Regions from separate parts of the Homo sapiens genome. Here regions 1, 2 and 4 are each linked to region 3. Evidence: promoter capture Hi-C in human tissues and cell types (Jung and others, 2019). All regions are on one chromosome and are shown on one strand. Each heading gives the region's core, a stretch centred on a gene start or on the middle of the fragment in contact. The rest is flanking DNA. Distances are from core to core; before and after follow the strand shown.

The links. The method cuts DNA at HindIII sites, captures the fragments that hold promoters and counts their contacts. A contact is called where the count stands out against the background at its distance.
Region 1: a fragment that was not itself captured here is called in contact with the fragment with the promoter of ZNF70 in region 3 in 1 of the 25 tissues and cell types used here (lymphoblastoid cells).
Region 2: a contact is called between a fragment that was not itself captured here and the fragment with the promoter of ZNF70 in region 3, in 1 of the 25 tissues and cell types used here (IMR-90 fibroblasts).
Region 4: a contact is called between a fragment that was not itself captured here and the fragment with the promoter of ZNF70 in region 3, in 1 of the 25 tissues and cell types used here (spleen).

Annotation. Positions count from the first base shown.
Region 1 is chr22:23,404,376-23,407,414 of GRCh38, reverse strand. No RefSeq gene overlaps it. Among named protein-coding and RNA genes, the nearest start is that of LINC01659, 28 kb to the left of the region's middle. The HindIII fragment of the contact is 6,786 bases long and covers 1-3,039 here.
Region 2 is chr22:23,483,931-23,486,630 of GRCh38, reverse strand. The region is part of intron 1 of FAM230I (family with sequence similarity 230 member I); the gene reads left to right. Among named protein-coding and RNA genes, the nearest start is that of FAM230I, 1.7 kb to the left of the region's middle. The HindIII fragment of the contact is 4,580 bases long and covers 1-2,700 here.
Region 3 is chr22:23,749,820-23,752,676 of GRCh38, reverse strand. ZNF70 (zinc finger protein 70) reads left to right here and starts at 1,565. Exons shown (of 2, transcript NM_021916.4): 1 at 1,565-1,966. RefSeq lists enhancers at 290-349, 1,190-1,249, 1,132-1,807 and a silencer at 1,400-1,849. The HindIII fragment of the contact is 11,413 bases long and covers 1-2,857 here.
Region 4 is chr22:23,317,842-23,320,734 of GRCh38, reverse strand. It overlaps BCR (BCR activator of RhoGEF and GTPase), which reads right to left. Exons shown (of 23, transcript NM_004327.4): 23 at 2,698-2,893. It also overlaps the pseudogene POM121L11P. Among named protein-coding and RNA genes, the nearest start is that of LINC02556, 7.3 kb to the left of the region's middle. The HindIII fragment of the contact is 3,644 bases long and covers 1-2,893 here.

The DNA.
Region 1 (3,039 bases), core at 478-2,977, 350 kb after region 3:
ACCCAGAAGTGGAGTTGCTGAAGCATACAGCAATTCAATTTTTAATATTGTGAGGAACCATCATACTGTTTTCCACAGCTGCTGTACCATCATACAGCCCCACCAACAATGAAGAAGGGTTCTGACTTCTCCACATCCTCACCAACGCTTGTAATTTCTGTTGTTTTTTTTTAATGGTATTCATCCTAATGGGTGTGGGGTGGTGTCTCATTGCAGTTTTGCTTTGCATTTCCCTAATGATTCATGATGTTGAGCATCCTTTCAAGTGCTTGCTGGCCATTTGTATACCTTTAGAAAAATGTCTAGTTAAGTCCTTTGCTCTTTTTTTTTTTTTTTTTGGAGGGGGTGGACAGAGTCTCACTGTGTCACCCAGGCTGGAGGGCAGTGCTGTGATCTCGGCTCACTTCAGCCTCCGCCTCCTGGGTTCAAGTGATTCTCGTGCCTCAGCCTTCCGAGTAGCTGGGACTACAGTCATGCACCACCATGCCATGCTAATTTTTGTGTTTTTTGTAGAGACGGGGTTTTGCCATGGTGGCCAGGCTGGTCTTGAACTCCTGACCTCAAGTGACCCACCCTCCTCGGCCTCCCAAAGTACTGGGATTATAGATGTGAGCCACAGTGCCTGGCTGCTTTGCTCATTTTTTAAATTGGGTTGGTGGTTTTTTTGTTGTTGAGTTTTAGTAGTTCTCTATATATCCTGTTTATTAATCCTTTATCAGGTATATGATTTTAAAATATTTTCTTCCATTCTGTGTGTGGTCTTTTTACTCTGTTGATAGTGTATTTTGATGCACATAAAAATTTAATTTTCATGAAGTCTAATTTGTCTTTTTATTTTGCTATTAGTGCTTTTGGTGTCATATGCAAGAAATCATTGCCAAATCCAGTGTCATGAAGCTTTTCCTCTATGTTTTCCTCTAGGAGTTTTATTGTTTTAGTCTTACATTTATGTCTTTGTTCCATTTTGAGTTAATTTTTATATATGCTATTAGGTAAAGATCCAGCTTCATTCTTTTGTGTGTGGATGTTCAGTTTTCCCAGCACCAGTTGTCGAAAAGATTGTTCTTTCACCATTAAATGGTCTTGGCACCCTCATCAGAAATCATTTGACTATACATCTGGGCTCTCTATTCTATCAGTCTGTATGTCTATCTTTATGTCAGTACCACACTGTTTAGATTACTGTAGCTTTGTAGTAAGTTTTGAAATCAGAAAATGTGACTTATCCAGCTCTGTTCTTCTTTTTCAAGATTGCTTTAGCTATTCGGGGCCCTTTGATATTTCATATGAATTTAGGATAGGTTTTTCTATTTCTGCAAAAAAGTAATGGTATTTTGGTAGAGATTGCATTACATTTATAGATTGTTTTGGGTATTATTGATATCTTAACAATATAAAGTCTTCCAATCCATGAGCATGGAATATGTTTCCATTTATTTATGTCTAATTTTTCTCACTAATGTTTTGTACTTTTCATTGTACAAGTCTTTCACCTCCTTAGTTAATTCCTACTTTTTTTTTTTTTTTTTGAGATGGAGTTTCACTCTTGTTGCCCAGGCTGGACGGTCCCATGTTTGGAACAGAGTGGGGCCGGGGGCCATTCCAGAAGAGTACCCAGGAGAGAATGGGCTCTGAGCCGGCTGCCCAGCCCCCTCCTGCTGTATGCGGCTCTGTGGAGAGCGCATGGCCTGTTTGAGGGCTTCTCCCCTCCCCTCTCTGCTGCCTGGTCCGCTGGAGCTCTCCCTTCGCCACCATGGGGCTCAGTTAAAGAAAACACTGATCCGAGCAGATGAGGGGAGGAACAGCCCTGCTGGGGACAGAGGTGGGCGTGGGGGCATGTTGTCTCCCCTGATGTGCAGGCGGTGGCTGGGGGAGTGTCGGGCGGGGGGAGTGTGGATGAAAGCCCAGACTCCAGCCTGTGGGTCCCATCTCTAGACTTCCCGACTCCCAGGTTCCCCAAAAGGTCTGTAGTGTCCCGGGCACCCAGGCCCCGATCTCAGATGGAGGGGGCACAGTGTCTCCCACAAGCGGCTCAGCCCAGCCTCAGGGCTCCTCACGCACACCCAGGGCCTCTGGAGTGGGCAACTCCTGCATCCTCTGCTTCCCTCAGCTCAAAACCAGGGCAAGTTCGAAATGCGTGCTCGCCCTTCTTGACCCCTGCTCAGCCGAGCCCCAGGTTGGGGGTGGGTATTGGAGGTGAGGCAGCCTCTGGCCTCATTGGAGGGGGTTGGTGGGCTGAGCAAACTGGCAGAGGATGTGCCCTACAGGGTGGGTGTGAGGTGGGGAGCAACTGAGGCAGATGCCTGTGTGGCCCTGCTGACCTAGCCCAGGCAGGGTGTGACAGGTCTGTCCAGCCCTGAGGGCACAGCTGTCTCCAGTCTCCAGCTCATTCCTGATCCCCAGGGTCACGTGTCCAGAAAACCTGGGCACTCAGATCAGCTGGGCACAGATGGCCTGTCCTGCCTCTGCACCCCCATAACTCCCTGTCAGCGCTGGCCCACACCTAATCAGCCAGCCAGTACCGAGGAGTGGGCCCAGCTTCCAGCGGGGAGGGCGCTGGCCAAGGTGCTGACCAAGCTGGCAGACACAGGAAACCAGCCTGTCCCTCTGCGGGCCTCTGCCTTGCTCCCACTGCACAGACCTGTGGGGAAGTGGAGGCCCAGGCCCCAACCCAGAGCAACTGGGGACAGCTGGGCTTGGTGGCTGGAGAGGGTTCTGATACCAGAAGTCTCCAGGGCAGCCCTGGCTCCCCATTTCCTCCCATGCCCATCCCATGCCCCAGAATGGTCACTTCGGCTGCTCCAGGAGGGGTGGGAGGGGCATTAAACCTATGAGAGAGGGGGTGGGGTCACAATCTTCAGCTGTAGTGGGCCGCTCTGGGTCACTGATAATGGAAGTGACGCCTGCACAGTAAGCACAGAAGTGTCTCAAGGCCTCTCTGCAAGCACAGAGCAGCCCAAGACTGGAGCCTGGTCCACCCCAGTGCTGTCCTCAGACTGATGGCCAGTGCCACATGACTCATCTAGGGTCTGATACATC
Region 2 (2,700 bases), core at 127-2,626, 270 kb after region 3:
CAAATTAAGTTATTCCCTTGAGGAGAATATGGCAAAGTCTATTTTAATGTAGTTTTTAACCTAATTAAGAACCTATGAAATCATTACTTTCAAAAAGTTTGGAGAAAAGCCACAGTAGTACAGATGGGTTTGAGGCTTTTCACACAATAAAATGTACCTATCTTTGTTTTTGACATGTTTTTCCTTCCTCTCTTCTTTTGTTGTGAAATGTGTATTTAGTTTAATAAATTTGTAGTAAGTCATGTCCATTCACATATCAATTTTAAATGTAATAAGAATGCGTATTGTCTGTGTGTGAAATAAAAAACATTTATTTTTATGCTTTGGGAGTTATCCAAAATCATAGAATTGTCAATTACAGTCAATCACCCAACCTACTCACCTTTCCAGAGTAGTCTTAGTCAAATTTTTTTTTTTTTTTGTTTCCCAATGAAATGCAGTATTTCAACACAGAAAGATAAATAGAATGAATTGGTAGAGACTGTTAACTAAGAACATACAGTTTTATTTATACTCAGAAACAAATAGATCATATACATATATATGAAGATAAAAATTAAAGGGATAATTGTGTAAGTTTGCATGTAGAAAGCTTTGAAAACCTGTTTACTTGTTAATGCTGTTTTGATGTATTGTGTGACTTAGTTCTCCCGACCCATCATCCAGAGCTCTCTCTAGGAGCTAAGTGCTCATCAGTTCTGTGAGTTGGAAACTAAGTTTAGAGGCACTTGTATTTGTTAGTAAATAAGGCAACATGATATTCTTTCACAGGTTTTAGTGCAGAAGACTGAATAGATAAGCTGCTCCACCCAGTACACTGGTGTTCATTTCATGGTCATCTCATATGTTGATCGTGGATATAAAACACTTATCTTCAATGACCTTCCTGTATATGTAAAAGCACGCCTGTCTACATGGCAGCAGTTGGACCTCACAATGTGGATTGTGCCTTCACCCTGAACTGTCTATGATGCCCTATCGTCATAGTGATGGGATTAGGGATCTCTTGCCCTTTGCTCTGCCCCTGTCTGTGCCAGCCAGGCCACTGGGTCGTTGTGGCAGATAGTGGTATCCTTTGTCAAGGGAGTTGCAACCAGGGTGATACATGAGACTAATGATTAGGTGGTATATTGTGTTCTTGTCTTGTCACCAGGTTGTGTAGCTCACAGACTTTTTTTTTTAACATTTCTATAGCTGTCATTTGAAGTTTGTAATGCCATCAAATATCAATAACGGTTCTTCCCATTATTTATCATGGAGGGCACTGAGTGTGCACTCAGGCAGACACAGCACTTTTGACAACTTTATCTGCTTCTTTCAAAACTGGGTCTGAATTATGATAAAGTGGTTGGGTTTAGGCCAAGCAGGTGTATTTCATAGAGCAATGGGTTGGGAGTTCAGAATCCTGGACTTGAATGAGTCTCTGAGCCTTATTAAGCTGTGAAATCTAAAGCAAGACATTTCACTGATAATTAAGCCTCATGAGCACTTATGCTGTATACTTTACCTACATCGAATCATTCAGCCATCACCACAGACATATGGCATGATTGATTTACTATCATCTTTTGCTGGGCAGAAAAAGACGGAGATGAATGTGCCCAAGCTTATGAGCCCCTAAGCAAAAGAGCCAAGATGGGAACCCAAGCATAGGGCCCCAATGCTGAGGCTCTGAACTACTGACCTGCCCTCAGCACTCAGCTGTGGGATCATGAGTCACTGTGCAAAGGACTTCCAACATCTGCATGTATGTCTGGAATGATCTGAGCCTGCAGAGTTCCTACACACTAGCCACATTATAGCATGGTGTCCATGGTCACATAGCTCAGGGCAGGTATTAGTACATGAATAACTTAGGTATGTCATAGTCTTTATGTGAAAGGCACATAAAAGTCCAAATGCTTTTGAACTGGTTGCGGATTTTGAGTTGGAGAACAGCACTTGGGACAACCGATCACATTCTTTCAGCGCTCGGCCACTCCTCAGCACATATCCCAAAGCTGATAAATAATGGGAAGACCCTTTATTGATATTTGATGGCATTATGAACTTCAAATGACCGCTAAAGAAATGTTAAAAAAAAGTCTGTGAGCTACACAACCTGGGGACAAGACAAGAACACAAAATACCACTTAATCATTAGTCTCATGTATCACCCTGGTTGCAACTCCCTTGACAGCTGGTTCGAAGAGCCTCAGTGCTCACCAGGGGCCATCTCCCCGCTCTGCCCTCTCTCCCTGTGGGTTGCCTGGGCTGAACATAGGTAGCTCCTCACATGATGACTGCAAACACAGGGCAAAGGAAGACTGAACGGAAAATGTACGGTTATAGTGGTTATTTTAAAATATAAGCATTTCAGTATTTTCTAATCTTTAATAATTGATTTTTTTGGGGGGGGGCTTTTTTTTTGGCAGAGTCTTGCTCTGTTGCCCAGGCTGGAGTGCACTGGCACAATCTCGGCTCACTGCAACCTCTGCTTCCTGGACTCAAGCAATTCTCCTCCCTCAGCCTCCCAAGTAGCTGGGACAACAGGCGCATGCCACCACGCCTGGCTAATTTTTTGTGTTTTTAGTAGAGACGGGATTTCACTGTGTTAGCCAGGATAGTCTTGATCTTCTGACCTCATGATCCGCCCACGTTGGCTTCCCAAAGTGCTGGGATTACAGGCGTGAGCCACTGCACCCTGCCGGTTTTTTTGTT
Region 3 (2,857 bases), core at 316-2,815:
CCACTCCTGGGGTGGGGAGCAGTGTGCGGGGGAATGGGGATTCTGGGGACTGTTGTCAAAGAGGAAGCACCTGAGACTATTGGGGCATGGCCCAGACTCCCCCACCATGGCCCCCTGGGGGCTCAAACTGGTAGCCTGACCTTCCTGTGACCTGAGGAGCCGGAGGGAGAAAAAGGAACCAGCCCTTGCCGCCCCCAACTCTGCATGGCTGGTTATGGTCCAAGGGTTATGGCTCTAGGGTGGCTGGTCCCCATGGAGCTCAGGCTGTTGGCTTGGGGAGGGGCAGCCACTGCCTACCCCTTGGAGTCTGTGCCCAAGGCCCGACAGAGCATTAATGGGGCAGGAAGGCAGGTGTGTGTGGGTAGCATTGGAGGCACTCGAGCGCCAAGGCTGAGGGTGCTGAAGGCAGGTGGGCGGCTGGGGCAGAATCCTTTTTCCCAGGGACAGTGTGTTCTCCTGATGTCCTGTGATTGGGCCAAGGTCTGCGGAGGGAAGCTCTCCCACAAGCTGGGCAGCTGCACCTGAGGGGGGGGTGTCATGGGCAGAACACTGGGTGGAGGGGCCAGTCTTGCCATCAGCAGCAAGGAGGGGGCGGAGATTCCTTTTCTTTTTTTTTTTTTTGTTTTTTGAGATGGAGTCTCGCTCTGTCGCCCAGGCTGGAGTGCAATGGCACTATCTTGGCTCACTGCAACCTCCGCCTCTCAGGGTCAAACGATTCTCCTGTCTCAGTAGCTGGGATTACAGGCGCTTGTCACCACTCCCGGATAATTTTTAGTAGAAACAGGGTTTCACCATGTTGGTCTGGCTGAGTCTCGAACTCCTGACCTCGTGATCCACCCGCCTCCGCCTCCCAAAATGCTGGGATTAAAGGCGTGAGCCACCGCGCCCGGCCAAGGGGGCGGCCATTTCAAGAACACATTCCTCTTCCCTCCCGGTGCGCCTGAGAGGAGGCGCTTCATGTCGAAGTCAGCCCTGGGATGCAGAGAGTTGGGGGGCTCAGGGTCCTGGGATGGTCTCGCAGACACTCCTAGTTCTTCGCCTGCCCCTTCTCATCTCTATTTCTGTGGGGGCGGGGAGGGCAGACAGGAACAGGGCTACCCTTGAAGCAGGTTGGGGGAGGGGGATCCTAACAGGACCCCGGTGCCTGTGGACAGTGACAGGGTCGACAGCTCTGGGGCTCCACTCTCCTTTCCCTGAAGACCCCAGCTGCCTCAGTGGCTTCTGGCTTGCACCCAGCACCAGCGCAGATGCCCCGAGTGCCGGCGGCTCGAGGTCGGCCCGCCCGTCCGGACCTGTTTCCTCCTCTGCTCTCCTGCCAACGCCTGCCCATCTCTGTTTCCCCCACGTCCAGCACGCGCTTCGGGGACGGCCAGAGCCACCATGCCGACTGGAGAGACTCTCCTGATTCGGGTCCTTGTGTCCCGGGGCCCGGGCGGCTTCGCGCGGCGACAACCGGCGCGGTGGGACCACCGAGACGCCGGGACCTCCGCGCGGCCTAGAGTGGTCCCGGAAGTGCCCGCGGGCCGGGGGCGGGGCTCTGGGTGCTCGGGCGGCCGCGGGCTCCGCGTCAGCAGCTGCTGTGGAGCCAGGCAGCGTCGGCCGCGTCGGCCGCGGGTTGGAGCAGCTCAGGTGCGGCCCCGCCCCGCCCGCCTGCGGCCCCGCCCCGGCCCAGGTGAGCTGCCCCGCCCCGGCCCAGGTGAGTGGCCCCGCGTCCGCCGGTGTGACCTGAGTCCGCCTGACCACCTGTCCCTCCGGTGGCCCTGGGTGTGCGTGTCCCCAATCGCGGGGAAGCCTGTAGGGGCGCCACGTCGCCGCCTGGGCAGCGTGTGCGGGTCCGTGGCAACTCTTGGGCCCCCAGCCAGGAAACCTTGACTGCACTAAGAGTTTGCAGGGTGCCCAGGCCCTAGGGACTCTCTGGAGGATGGGATGACAGATGCAGGAGGACCCGGAGAAGGCCCCGACAGAGGTGGGAAGCATGGAGTTCCAGATCTTTGCATTTTCGGTCCAAAAACACTTATCATGTTGTGGGAGACAGATAAAGGGTTGCCAACTTTTTTCTGAGTGGAGACTTCAGGGTGTAGGGGCTATATAGTGGGAATGGAAAACCTCTACGGAGGGAAGTTTGAGAACACCAGGACTTAATGGGTGGGCGGAGGAAGAGTTGCAATCTAAAGATATCAAGAAAGAGAACTTGGAAGCCATGAAAATTGGGAAGAAAGCGAGGGTGGGGATGGGGTTGGGGGGTAGCTCAAAGCTTTCATGCACCTAGGTAGGCAATGTGGGCGGGTGAAGGGATATTGTCACATCTTCGTTTTTCAAGAGAAAGCCAGAAACCTACTGAGTTTTAAATATTGGTAACTAAGGAAAATGAACAGGAAAAGCCAAACTCTTCGAGAGCCAAACATAACATAGCAGGATCTTCAGGCTGCCAATTTGCAACCTCTGAAATGAAGGGTTTTGAGAAGGAGGTATTGGAGAGCAGTGCCAGATGGGGTGGGAAGGTGAAGACCGAGAAGAGAGGGATTGGCAATAAGGAGGTCATAGAATGCCAGAGCTGAGGTCCCAGCTGAAATCGGAAACTCGAAATTTGTCGTGGTGCCATACATAGTTGTATGATTTTTCTTGGCAACATTTAACAACTTAGGAGGAACTGGCCGAGAAGACTGGGACTTAGCGGCTAGTTGCAGCCGGACGAGGAGGTGAGGAGCATGGTGCTAGAGCGTGAGAGTTGAAGTGATGCGCATAGTATGGAGAGTCTAAGCTGGATGGAGAAGGGGTGGAGCTAGAAAAGGAGAACTACAGTAAAAATGGCTTGGATTTCATGAGGTCGAAAAGCACAAATTGAGTGAGAGAGCTG
Region 4 (2,893 bases), core at 216-2,715, 430 kb after region 3:
CAGGCCTAAGGCACATGCTCGGCCGTATTTATTTATTTAATTATTTAGAGACAAAGTCTTGCTCTGTCACCCAGGCTGGAGTGCAGTGGCGCCATCTCAGCTCACTGCAGCCTCCGCCTCCGAGGTTTAAGCGATTCTCATGCCTCAGCCTCCTGAGTAACTGGGACTACAGGTACTCACCACCACGCAGGGATATTTTTTTCTGTTTTTTTGTAGAGACACGGTTTCACCATGTTGGCCAGGCTGGTCTCGAACTCCTGACCTTAGGTGATCTGACAGCCTCGTCCTCTCAAAGTACTGGGATTACAGGCATGAGCCACTGCGCCCGGCCTCTCACTACGTTTAAGTGATGCCATGGCTCATGCCTGTAATCCTAGCACTTTGGGAGGCCAAGGCAGGTGGATCACCTGAGGTCAGGAGTTCGACACGAGCCTGGCCAACATGAGGAAACCCCGTCTCTAGTAAAAATACAAAAATTAGTCAGGCGTGGTGGTACAAGCCTGTAGGCCCAGCTACTTGGAAGGCTGAGGCAGGAGAATCACTTTAACCGGGAGGCAGAGGTTGCAGTGAGCCAATATCATTCCACTGCACTCCAGCTTGGGTGACAGAGTGAGACACCGTCTCAAAAAAAAAAGAAAAAAAGAAAGAAAAAAATGTGATGCCGGGGCATCTCAGCCTCAATACCTGCATGAGCACAGTCATGTCCAGGCCAGGGCTGCTGGTCGAGGTCTGGCCCCATCTCTTCTAGAAGAAAGGGAGTAAGCTTGCAGGGAGGCTGGGGGACAAGATCCCAGGATCTCAGCCTCCGCTCATGGATCAGCTCTGAGACCCTGACTGAGCTGGGGGTGCTCTGTGTGCACTGGTTTCCCCAGCTGTCAAGTAAAGGGATTGGATGAGGAAGTCTTGTCAAGGTGGAATGATCTCAGATTTGGGGCAGCAGTGAATGATCCCGCTCCCTGGGCCCATGCCAGTGGCCTGGCCTCGGCTGAACACAGCCCCAACACTCTGGAATGGGGATGAGGGGGAAGTCAGCTCTTGCTCTTAGTAAGAGAGATGCAATAGGGCTCTGTGGCTGAGCTGGGTGCCTTGCCTCACACCTGTAATCCCAACCTTTGAGAGGCTGAGGCGGGAGGATTGCTTGAGGCTGGGAATTTTGAGAATAGCCTGGACAACATAGCCAGACCCCATGTCTACAAAATAATAAGAAAACACACAGCTATAGTCCAAGCTACTTGGCAGGCTGAGGCAGGAAGGTCCCTTGTGTCCGGGAATTGGAGGCTGCATTGAGCTATAATCGCACCACTGCACTCCAGCTTGGGTGACAAAGTGAGACCCTGTCTCTAAAAGAAAAAAATATCGGCCTGTGAGCATGGGTTTGATCTTCAAACAGGACCCGGAGGGTAGGGACAGACAGTGCTGTCACCCTTAGGTGCTGAACACTCAGAAACGGGCCAGCGGCAGTCCTTTCCTCACCTGCAGACACCAGATTGGGCAGAACAGCACGTGGCACTTGCAGCTCTTGCAGTGAGGGCAGAACCCAGTGTCAACCCTTCTGCCTGTGGGAGGGGCTGCTGAGGCCTGCGGAGAGGCCAGGGTGGAGGCTCGTCCCCTTGTCCAGCCCTTGGCGTGGTCTCCACCAGGTCCCCAGTCCACCAGTGCAGGGCTCCCCTGAGCCTGCTGCTGCCACGGGCCCTGTCTCTACCCAGGACGTCCCCCCACCCTCGCAGTGTCAGGGAAATGATCATGGTGGCGGTGACACTCCGCAGGCAGGGCTGCTGAGAGAAGCTGAGAAGGGTCACACTGCAGGCAGGCGCCCGTGTGACAAGCCCCTCTCACCCCGAGAGAGCTGACCAGGCAGCTCACGAGCAGAGCCACATCCCGGGAGTCCGAGAAAGGTCCTGGCTGGGCTCAGCCACCTCACTGGCCACGGGCAGCCTTTGTCGTGTGAGCCTTGCTCTCCTGGGGAGGCTCAGGCTGACAGCTGTGGGCATTGCCGAGGGTAACCTGTGGCCCAGTGTATATGGCCGGCTCTCCTCAAGCTGCATTCATTCAAGTAGGACCCAGGGTGCATGCCCATCTCCAGCCCAGGGCAGCTCCCCTGTAAGCTGGGTGAGCTACTGAAGCCAAGGCGGGAGGCAGCTGACAACACCCACGGCCCATGCGGAGGTGGTGGAAAGGCTGGACTCAGCAGCAACACCAAATCCCGGACCAGGCAGAAACCACCCAAGACTGAGGGGCTCGTGCCAGAGCGGTGGCCACAGGTAAGAACCCGGGCCCAGGGTGGCAGGAATCCTCCATGTCCCAGGGCTTAGCATAGCAAAGGAAGACCAGCCGGGTCACCCTGGTGGCCATCTGTCCCTGTCCCACCTGCAGAGTCAGAACAGCCTCTCCCCAGTGGGGATCATCTCTCTCTGCCAAAGCAACAGCGGTCCCTGCCCCAACCAGACTACCCCACTCAGTGGGGTTACGGATGCTGCTCCAGCATCCTAACACTGCCCAGCTGGTGCCTGCCTGTGCTCACCCACACCCCCCAGGCCGGCCTTCCCTGCAGCCTGGGCTTGGCCACCTTGGCCTGATTGAGCACTGAGGCCTCCTGGGCACCCAGCCCTATCACTGCACCTGCTGCTTCCAGCCCCACCCCACCGGCTCAGGGGTTCTTCCCAGCGGCGCTGATCATGAAGTCAACATGCACGCAAGTCGTCTCAGGAAACTTTTTAATGAAAGTGTCGGCCACGGTGGTGTGTAGGTGGCTGAGCTCAGATTGCAGCTGCTAAGACACCAGCCACTTACCAAGAGAAAGCCAGGCTGCTTCAAACCCAGGGCCCAAGGCAAAAAAGCATCACTTCCGGCCGGGGAGTCTGGAAGCCACGCCTTGTGGGAGGTCACACTGGCA